2 separate regions of the Homo sapiens genome follow, and region 2 is linked to region 1. Evidence: promoter capture Hi-C in 16 types of primary human blood cells and fetal thymus (Javierre and others, 2016). All regions are on one chromosome and are shown on one strand. Each heading gives the region's core, a stretch centred on a gene start or on the middle of the fragment in contact. The rest is flanking DNA. Distances are from core to core; before and after follow the strand shown. Region 1 holds the start of TOM1 (target of myb1 membrane trafficking protein). Region 2 overlaps BCL2L13 (BCL2 like 13).

Region 1 (5,403 bases), core at 2,034-4,533:
AGAACAGTGAAACAGCTGACCCCAAACCCTAGGCTCTTTTCTACCCCAAGCTACTTTCAGATTTAAATCATGTCTATAATTCATCAGAATGCTTTCCATTATCTCAAGTCCTGAGCGAATGTGATTGTGGGAATGCTGTCTCAGATCTTTGCATTGTTCGGGTATCTAGCTGGCTTTCACTCTTGTCATACTATTGTCTTTAAATTTTGAAGGCAAGGTATCTTGATTTTTGTCTGTAAGCACTTAAAGGATTTAATAGATTACATTTATGCAGACTGTCAATCTTAAGAAATTTGAACATTTTAACCCTCAGTAAGGCATGATATTAATTTTACTAAAACACTTAAAAAGTAAATTGAAACACTTTTTACTAAATCAGTTTGCTCCTTATTAGCACACTTTTTAAAGACAGTTTTAATCAGTTTTGTACTAACTTTAATGTTTGCCATTTACATCCCTATCTACTATGTTGATAAAATCCATATACTGGCCAGGTGCAGTGGCTCGTGTCTGTAATCCCAGCACTTTGGGAGACTAAGTCAGGAGGATCATTTGTGGCCAGGTGTTTGAGACCAGCCTGGAGAATATAGCAAAACCCCATCTCTACAAAAACTAAAAGATATTAGCCAGGTATGGTGGCATGCATCTGCAGTCCCACCTACTCAAGAGGCTGAAGTGGGAAGACACTTGAGCCCAGGAGATCAGGGCTACGGTGAGCTACAGTTGTACCACTGTACGCCAGCCTGGGTGACAGAGACTCTGTCTTTAAAAATAAATAAATAAATAAATCCATATACTTCCATTTCTGTTTCAATAGCTATATAGTAATCAGTTTGCATGGAGTTGTTTTTCTTTTTTTTTTTGAGACGGAGTCTCGCTCTGTCTCCCAGGCTGGAGTGCAGTGGTGCAATCTCTGCTCACTGCAAGCTCCGCCTACCAGGTTCACGCCATTCTCCTGCCTCAGCCTCCCGAGTAGCTGGGACTACAGGCGCCCACCACGGCGCCCACCACCACGCCCAGCTAATTTTTTCTATTTTTTTAGTAGAGATGGGGTTTCACCGTGTTAGCCAGGATGGTCTTGATCTCCTGACTTCGTGATCTGCCTGCCTGGGTCTCCCAAAGTGCTGTGATTACAGGTGTGAGCCACCGTGCCCAGCCTGCATGGAGTTTATGATTCCACTTCCTGTTTGGGGGCATATGAGTTGTCTCTGTTTTTGTTTTTTTTTGTTTTTTTTTTTTTTTTTTTTTACCATGAATAAAGTTTACAAGAACTTGTTAAAAGCTTAAAGGAAGGGCCAGAGATGGTGGCTCATGCCTGTAACCCAGGGCTTTGGGAGGCTGAGGTGGGAGGATCACTTGAGCTCAGAAGTTCAAGGACCAGCCTGGGCAACATAGTGAGACTTTGCCTCTAAAAATAAATAAATAAAGGTTAATGGAAGAATCCAAAAGAAGTTCATGCTAAACATAACTCCATATGACCAAGCAATAAGGTTAAGTGAAGAAAGACATGGAAAGTGCCTTGACCTGAAGGTCATCTTAAATGGCCTTCTCCCCGCTTATACTCCAAATACCATTACTGAAACGTAGATCTATTTAAGCTTTCATGTGCTAGTTACTGGGTTAGACAATAGTGGGGAGCAAAACAGAAATAGTAGCCCAGCCCCCAGGGACATCCAGACTCGTGGGGGCAAAGGCATTTGTGAACAGGTCTCATGAGTGTTGTGGAAACACTTCAAAGCAGTTTTTATATTGTACAGTAAAGACATCGGACCCCATGGCTGCTCAAACAAGTGAATCTACAGAGGTGATTAAGTTCTAATTTAGGTTTGTTTTTTTTTTTAAGACACAGCCTTACTCTGTCACCCAGGCTGGAGTGCAGTGGCACGATCTCAGCTCACTGCAATCTCTGCCCCCCTGGGTCCAAGCAATTCTCATGCCTCAGCCTCCCAAGTAGCTGGGACTACAGGCGTGTACCACCACACCTGGCTAATTTTTGTATTTTTAGTAGAGACGGCATTTTACCATGTTGGCTAGGCTTGTTTTGAATGCCTGACCTCAGGTGATCCACCTGCCTCAGCCTCCCAAAATGTTGGGATTACAGGCGTGAGCCACCACACCTTGCTTAATTTAGGTTTTCTGTCATCCAAAATTTGTGCAGTCAATTTACTAGCCTTTCAGATTTAAAAACCACAAACATCACAATAAGTACTTAAGCACCCACAGTAGCCAGACTACTAAGGCCATGGTTATTGTATTTTTGGAGTACATGCCAGAAGAAAAGGTCATAACCCATAGATAGGTATCTAGTGTGTAGGTGTCAGCAGACACACCACACACAGCCAGGAAGGCTGAAGAGATTAGAATCACAACGCTGGGAAAGGCCTTTGAGATTCTTAGCTTGGGGTCCACGGTTGTACTTCAGGGACCCCAGAAACTCCCTGAGGTTATAAGCAAAATTGTATCGCTGCCTTTTTTCTTCAGAAAGGCTCATGGCTTTTGTCAAATTCTCAAAGGAGACTGTGACCTAAATAAAATATTTTTTAAAAATGGTTACGAGTCCTTGATCTAATTCCAGTATCTAGAGAAAATGGGAGCTATGTTTGGCTCACACAGTAAATTTATGGCAGAGACGGGTATTAAAGCCCCACTCGTGACTACATCTGTGCTTTTTGCCATCCTGGGCGCTAGAGGGAATTGCGCTGCAATTCATTAAATTGCCTCTCAGTCTCAACAGATGACAAACCCCTTGCCCTTGCCTCTGATTTAAGGTAAGATAATTTGGGCTGCGAGCAGGGTGCATCTTGGAGCGGGGAGACCTTGACATCAAACAGGAAGAGTCTTACCGGGACAAGGAGACAACAGCCCAGAGAGGCTGTCACCCAGGGTAGGTGTGCAGTCACAGTGAGGTCCCAAGGACTAAGGGCTATGACCCTAAGAGTCTCGGCTTCTGTGTAACTCACCCAAGTCACTTCCCTGGTCTACGACCCAGTTTCCCAAATGTGTAAAGGGTCCTTTAGACCTCGCCCTAAAAGGTCAGGGGCGTGGCTTAAAGAGGACCGCGCTTCCCGGGCCCCGACCCCAGACCCTACATCGTGTGTGACGCCCGCCGCCGCCGAGCAAGCCGCAGTGAGGTCATCGCCCTCCGCCTCGGGGGCGGGACCCTGGCGTCTCAGGGCGGGGCTTGTGGTCGAGCTTCGCGGTGCCACCGCCCCGCCCACGCCTCCTCGCCGGCCTCCGAGTGCGTCACGTGACGGGTCGGTGGCGCTGGCGGTTGCTGTCAGCTGATTCCCGGGGTTGGTGGCAGCGGCGGTAGCAGCAATGGACTTTCTCCTGGGGAACCCGTTCAGCTCTCCAGTGGGACAGCGCATCGGTGAGTCCCTGGAGCCCCCCACAGCTCCGCCCCGGTGCTCCGCACCCAGCTTCGGTCCCCTGGGAAGCCTCCGGGTGCCTAGTCACGGAGGCAGGGAGGGCAAGGAGGCTGGCGTGTAGCTCTCCGACCTGGCTCCGCCCAGCTTTCCTCCCACTCTTGATTGACAAGAACTTGGGCCATTAGGAAGCCTTGGCTTGTGATAGATGTATATGACAGCCAGTAGGTAAGGAGAGAGGGTGGGTCCGGATGCCCACGGCGCAGCCAATGTGCGTCTGCTGGGGTCCCCAATCGAGGGAGAAAGTTTTCGTGGTTAAAGGGACTGCGTGGTTGGCAGTGGCTGGGCCACTCTGCTGGGTCCCGCCGCCTGGGCTCTGGCCAGCTCCTTCCTGGCTCACCGGGCCCTCCGGACACAGACACCTGAGAAGGGCTAGAAGTCCCTTCTCCCAGGACCGCGAAGCCCCGGGCTTGGCGTCTTGGGGCCAACTGGCCAGAGGGGCCCAGCGCCGGACAGCCCGCGGCCAGGCCTCACAGACCCGGGTCTCAGGACGTGTCCGCCTGGGCTCTTTTCTCGACCCAACCTCAAATGGACCCGCACAGACTCTCAGAACCTGAGCAGACAGTGGTCGGACAAACCCTCCTGGTCAGCCCATCTCGGTGCTCCGTAGGTGGGGCAGCCGGGAACTCGGGCCAAGCCAAGCCCAGGGCACCTGGCGCCTGTCTGCTGGTCCGTGGTTCTCTGCACCCTGGTGACAGGATACTCACAGTTCTGTGACGCAGCCTCCCTGGGCCGAGGTTTCCTCACCTGTAGTTGGCGGGCAATAATGGTCCCCACCTCCGTGGGCTTGTTGTGAAGATTAAATTCCTTAATAAATGTGAAATACTTAGAACAATGCCTGGTACATGGCCAGTGCCATATAAAAAAAAACAGTTGTAATATTTATTATCACTGGGCTGGGCACGGTGGCTCCCGCCTGTAATCCCAGCACTTTGGGAGGCCAAGGCGGGCAGATCGCTTGAGCCCAGGAGTTCGAGACCAGCCTGGGCAACATGGCGAGACCCCGTCTCTACAAAAAAAAAAAAAAAAAAAAATACAGAAATTAGCCGGGCGTGGTGGTGCGTGCCTGTGCACCCAGCCACTCGGTAGGCAGAGCTGGGAGGATTTATTGGATCTGGGAGGTCAGGGCTGCAGTGAGCCCTGATGGCGCCACTGTACTCCAGCCTGGACGACGCAGGGAGAGCCCATCTCTTGAAACACATACACATACACACACACACACGCACACATATATATAAAAATATACACATACAAACATACATATACATACACATACATATATATTATATGTATTTACACACACACGTTGTTCCTGAGATCACCAAGTGAAGGTTAGGAATCCCTGGAAATCGCTTGGCAGTAGATCTCATAGGTGCTCATTCTTGGGCACCAACACCATGAGAACCGACATGCCTTCACCCAAACAGCCACACTTCTCCGGAGGATGGTTTGGGTGTTCCGCATTCTTGCATGAAGAAACCATCGCATTACCGTGAAATTACTCTTCATCTTTTTTGATGACGACTTTTCGTCTTAAGTCCAGACTGGGAAAACTTTAAGATGAGACATATTTTCCATTCTTAGTGTCTTGCGAAACCTCACGAAAGCTTGTCGACCCGGCTCTGTGTTGTAATCGCCACCGTGGCTGTCGGTGGCTCTTCCGAGGTTTTGTAATCAATGCTCTCCAAGGGGGAGGTGGCAGTCCAGGATTTACACACCAGGAAGCTCCTGAACCAGGGAGAGGAACTGCCCTCTCAAAGGACCCCTGCCCTCCCCGGACACACACCCACCCCACAGTGAGTCATGGTTTTTTGGAGCTGAAAAGAGAAGGCAGCTCTCCTCTCATCTATATTTCTCTGACTACAGAAACCACTGCTTTTATCACATGCCAAGTTTAAGACTTACTACTTAAAAATAAACAAGTAAATAAAAGACCTGGCTTCAAAGTCAGCCACATACTCTTAAGGCTTTCTGGAAA
Region 2 (5,403 bases), core at 890-3,389, about 18 Mb before region 1:
AGGAGTGTTAGTAGCTACAAGAAGGATTGATTTCTCTTAAAAGCACGTTCATTCACTGTAGCTTATGACAGTGATTGATCAAAATTCTTACATTGTTGAGTATGACAGAGATTACCTTAGCCTGGAAAAAAATTGAAGGCAAGTCCATTAGAGGCAAGCCACCCTTGGAAACAGGTTGCAGAACATCTGGTATTCAGGAATACAGCTTTTTAGTAAAACTTCCCCAATCAATTTGTTGTGCAATGTCCAACAAATTTAAGCAACACATATTAAGCCATTCTCTCTAGCAGCAATTGAAGAGCAAGAATAACTGCCTGTCAAGATTTCTCCTAGTTTGTGTTAAAACAGCCTTATTTTATATTACATGGCATTATCTAAACTGACAGAGGTTGTCCTGCTATTCCTACCTTTCACAGTGTGGAAAGCAGGTTCTGTATAAGCATCTTTGATTAAAAATCTGTGATGAGCTAATTTCTGTTCACAGAGATAAGGGGCCAGGAAAGATAATTATCTAATAATACAATTTTAGAGCATGAAAAGAATTGGTGAGTGGGAGCACCTGTCGATTGGGCATTTATCTCATTACTCTTCACAACTACCCTTTGTGGTGGGTATTATTTTCCCATTTTATATAAGAGGAGAGACGGTGGCTCACGCCTGTAATCCCAGCACTTCGGGAGGCTGAGGCAGGCGGATCACTTCAGGTCAGGAGTTCGAGACCAGCCTGGCCAACATGGCAGAACCCTATCTCTACTAAAAACAAAAAAAAATAGGCAGGTGTGGTGGCACACGCCTGTACTCCCAGCTACTTGGGAGGCTGAGGTGGGAGAATTGCTTGAACCCAGGAGGTGGAGGTTGCAGTGAGCCGAGACTGCACCACTGCACTCCAGCCTGGGTGACAGAGCGAGACTCTGTCTCAATTAAAAAAATAATCATAAAGAGGAGAGGGTCAAGAAGATTATTTTCCTTGCCCAAGTGAAGAGTTAGAAGGCCTGACTCCAAAGCTTATCAACCACTTTACGGCTGTTTTCCAGGAAGCTGGAAGGGAAAGAGAGAATTTTATTGCAAGAAATAGCATGGGCCGTGAATTAATTTCTGAGCTTGTGTTTGATTTCACTTAATAATGTCATGATGTATTCTGGAGATCACTGTATCTTGTGCAGTTATATTAATCAGTGCTGTTGCAGAGCCATCTAACACTACAAATTACTTCTAAAGGGAAAACCTGTTATAATTATAAACAGTAATGGAGATTTAGTAGAAGCTTATCTGTAAAGGTAGACTTTTATGCTTTATGAGAATTTATAAAGATTAGGATAAATTGGCATAGGATCTTTCTAGGATAAATTGGCCTCAAATTTTTGCATAATAGATTGTTTTATGTAACATTTTCAAGTTTTTATGAATGTAGTTTATCAAAGTTATTTACTTAGGCAGAAGTAAGTGAAATGTCATTAAGCAAAGTATATGCTATTGGTGACATTGAGGAGATCCTTTGTGTTACATTTCAACTTTTAAGGATTCTGGCACTTAGGGAGGCAGAGGCAGGAGGATGGCTTGAGCCCAGGAGTTTGAGACCTGCCTAGGCAATATAGTGAGACCCTATTCTCAAAAAATAAAAAAATAAAAAAATAAAAGGATTTGAATTTTATTTTGGTTAGTCTCATCTCATAAGGAAAGTGTTTTATGTCGCTTAAAGCCATGTTATTTTTGTCAGCTTTAAAAGTAGAAAATGAATCAGAATCTGTGATACGTAAAAATGTTTAACCTTTTGTTTTTTAAAGGTATTTTAAATACCTGTGGATGATAGAATAATCAAGTTTCTTGACCTTAATAGAATTAATTAATTCAAAGCCCATCTGAGAATTTGGGATTCTTTAATTTGGTTGCAAAAAATGAAAACATAGGCAGAGCCTGGTGGCTCATGCCTGTAATCCCAGCGTGAGGGAGGCCAAGGTGGGCGGCCTGCTTGAGCCCAGGAATTTGAGACCAGCCTGGCCAACAAGGCAAAACTTTGTCTCTACCAAAAAAAAGAAAAACCCCACACAGCTGGGCGCGGTGGCTCACACCTGTAATCCCAGCACTTTGGGAGTCTGAGGCAGGTGGATCATGAGGTCAGGAGATCGAGACCATCCTGGCCAACATGGTGAAACCCTGTCTCTACCAAAAATACAAAAATTAGCTGGGTGTGGTGGTGTGCACCTGTAGTTCTAGCTACTCAGGAGGCTGAGGCAGGAGAATCACTTGAACCCAGGAGGCAGAGGTTGCAGTGAGGCGAGATCGCGCCATTGCATGATCTGGCGACAGAGCGAGACTCTGTCTCAAAAAAAAAACAAAAAAACCCCACAAAAATTAGCTGGGCATGGTGGTGTGTACCTGTAGTGCCAGCTACTTGAGAGGCTGAGGTGGGAAGATCGCTTGAGCCTAAGAGGTTGAGGCTCTTGTGAGCCATGATAGTGCCACTGCACTCCAGCCTGGGCAACAGGGTGAGACCCTGTCTAGAAACATAAAATATATAGAAGTGCTGAAGTGCAGTGGTGCAGTCATGGCTCACAGCAGCCTCGACCTCCCAGGCTCAAGTGATCTTCACACATCAGGCTCCCGAGTATCTTGGACGATGGGAACATGCCACTGTGCTCAGCTAGTTTTTTTTATTTTTCGTAGAAACAAGGTCTAGCTATGTTGCGCAGGCTGTTCTTGAACTCCTAAACTTAAACAATCCTTCTGCCTCGGCCTCCCAAAGTGCTGAGATTACAGGCATGAGCACCACACCCAACTGAAGTGAAGATTAAATAAGGGGACATGAAAGTCCCTGTCAGAAGACAGTATCACCGATATAGACAGCCTTTCTGCTCTCTGTTAACTATTTAATCATGTCAGAAATGTTTCTGAGATCTTTCATTCCTAGCCACCCAACCAGAAGATGACGAGAGCACAGCCTGGATTAACGATTTTGTAGTCAGACTCACCAGAGTTCCAATTATAACTTCTTTATGGTAGTGGTAGAACCTATCCAAGCTTCAGTTTCCTCATCTTCAAATGGAACTATTATTTCATCCCTCATAAGGTTGACTTGGAAATTAAATGAAATAACACATAGGAAATGTTTACTACCGTGCCTGTTAAGTAACAGGTACTTTGTAAATGCTTGCTGTTGTCCTGCCCTTCCTGAACTTCCCCAGTCTATATAAATAGTTTCATGTGCTGGACAAATCTTACTCATTTTTGTGCTGCGTAGATGCTTCAGGACATACCTGATAAATAGCAGGTAGTCAATGTTTCTTCAGTGGATAAATGAATAGTAGGTAGACCTGCAACTTAGTGGCCCAGTTCATGCTGCTTTTTGTTAGCTTGTTTGGTTTTTCTGCTGAAATTCTTGCATGGTGGAGTATAGTTGATTGCAGGGCCCTTCCCCCACACCCAGGTAGGGGCTTCATTGTCCCCACAAGTTACTTATCTCAAGTCTTTAGGGAAATGAAAAACCACTCTCCTCTAACAGAAGGTTAGTTGCTAAGTATACAATTCAGCATCCTCTGGGTGTTCAGGTAAGTCTGAATTTAAGTTCCAGAAATGAGTGAGATTCCTAGGATGACTCTGAATTATCTTGACTTCCCTGAATGCTTCTGGCTAAAAACCAAGCTGGGATTATTGATGTGATTGTGAATCTGGCCCATGTCCTGGGAATGTGGATTCTGCTGCATATGTCAATTGGTTTGGCTCTTTTTTTTTTTTTTTTTTTTTTTTGAGACAGTTTCACCCTTGTGGCCCAGGCTGGAGTGCAATGGTGCGATCTCTGCTCACCACAGCCTCCAACTCCTGGGTTCAAGTGATTCTCCCACCTCAGCCTACCGAGTAGCTGTGATTACAGGCGCCTGCCACCATGCCTAGCAAATTTTTGTATTTTTAGTAGAGACGGGATTTCACCATGTTGGCCAGGCTGGTCTTGAACTCCTGACCTCAGGTGATCCGCCCGCCTTGGCCTCCTGAAGTGCTGGGATTACAGGCGTGAGCCACTGTGCCTGGCTGGTTTGGCTCTTTTTATCCTAAATTTTTTGTTTAAATGTTCTGTAGTACTGAAATCACCTGAAAGTAGAAGAAAAAAAAATTATTCAAGAAAGAATATTTTTGCAATGTAGGGAGAGCTTGAGCTTTTTATATAAGCTTTTAAAGCTTTAAAAGGAACTGTGCTGTTTTACCCCCAAATTTGCCCACTTTGAATTCAGGAGAAACGTTTTGGTCTCCTTTATGTTCTAGTCTCTGGATACAAATGTTTTCTTTGTTCGTTTTTTCCCCTTATTACCAACCACAGGTTCTTAGGCTCCTGTGTAATAGAAATTGACACAAGGCCAAGCAAGTTTCCCAGACAAGGCTATATTAAGACTTATGGGCCAGGCACGGTGGCTCACGCCTGTAATCCCAGCACTTTGGGAGGCTGGGGCGGGCGGATTACCTGAGGTCAGGAGTTCGAGATCAGCCTGGCCAACATGATGAAGCACCATCTCTACTAAAAATACAAAAAATTAGCCGGGCGTGTTGGCAGGCACTTGTAATTCCAGCTACTCGGGAGGGTGAGGCAGGAGAATTGCTTGAACCCCGGGGGGCGGAGGTTGCAGTCAGCCGAGATTGTGCTATTGCACTCCAGCCTGGGCAGCAAGGGCGTAACTCTCTCTCAAAAAAAAAAAAAAGCTGGGCACGGTGGCTCACGCCTGTAATCCCAACACTTTGGGAGGCCGAGGTGGGCGCATCACGAGGTCAGGAGATCAAGACCATCCTGGCTAACACGGTGAAACCCCATCTCTACTAAAAATACAAAAAATTAGCGGGGAATGGTGTCGGGCGCCTTAGTCCCAGCTACTCGGGAGGTTGAGGCAGGAGAATGGCATGAACCTGGGAGGTGGAGCTTGCAGTGAGCCGAGATCAAGCCACTGCACTGCACTCCAGCCTGGGAGAGAGCGAGACTCTGTCTCAAAAAAAAAAAAAAAAAAAAAAAAAAAAAAGAAAAAAAGACTCATACCTAGAAAGGTTGGACATAAGGGAGACAGCACAGGAGGAAGGGTTCTCCAGCTGGCTCTCCGAGGGGAGTGCATTGCGGTGTCTTAAGGAGGGTGGCATGCATGATTCACGAGGTAAGTGAGCATCACTACGTGTGTGGGGTGGAGTGCAGACACGGTAAGGAATCGTGCTAACACATGATCAGAAAGTGGCAGATAAGCGTCTTTCTGGGTGGTGATTTTAGTATTATAATGAGGCTGGTGATTAGGATTGGTCATTGTCCTTGAGCTCGTGTGAGTGGTAGAGCTCACTCCCTTGAGTAAGATTTATGGCAGGCTGCTGCCTATAGTTTCTTCATACCATACCTGCGAGGTCTGGTCAGCAGGTATGGTGCCAGTTGGGATGGCGCTG

Evidence for each region. Contacts are between HindIII fragments. The CHiCAGO score rates a contact against its expected background, and 5 or more counts as called.
Region 2: a fragment that was not itself captured here is called in contact with the fragment with the promoter of TOM1 in region 1 in 1 of 17 cell types (M0 macrophages); the score reaches 5.7 in M0 macrophages.

The regions. Positions count from the first base shown.
Region 1 is chr22:35,296,611-35,302,013 of GRCh38, forward strand. It overlaps TOM1 (target of myb1 membrane trafficking protein), which reads left to right and starts at 3,284. Exons shown (of 15, transcript NM_005488.3): 1 at 3,284-3,370. The coding sequence starts at 3,319. RefSeq lists enhancers at 2,859-3,381, 3,308-3,457, 3,382-3,904, 3,858-4,017, 4,428-4,949. The HindIII fragment of the contact is 3,434 bases long and covers 1,597-5,030 here.
Region 2 is chr22:17,675,545-17,680,947 of GRCh38, forward strand. All of the region lies in intron 2 of BCL2L13 (BCL2 like 13), which reads left to right. Among named protein-coding and RNA genes, the nearest start is that of BCL2L13, 39 kb to the left of the region's middle. The HindIII fragment of the contact is 1,754 bases long and covers 1,263-3,016 here.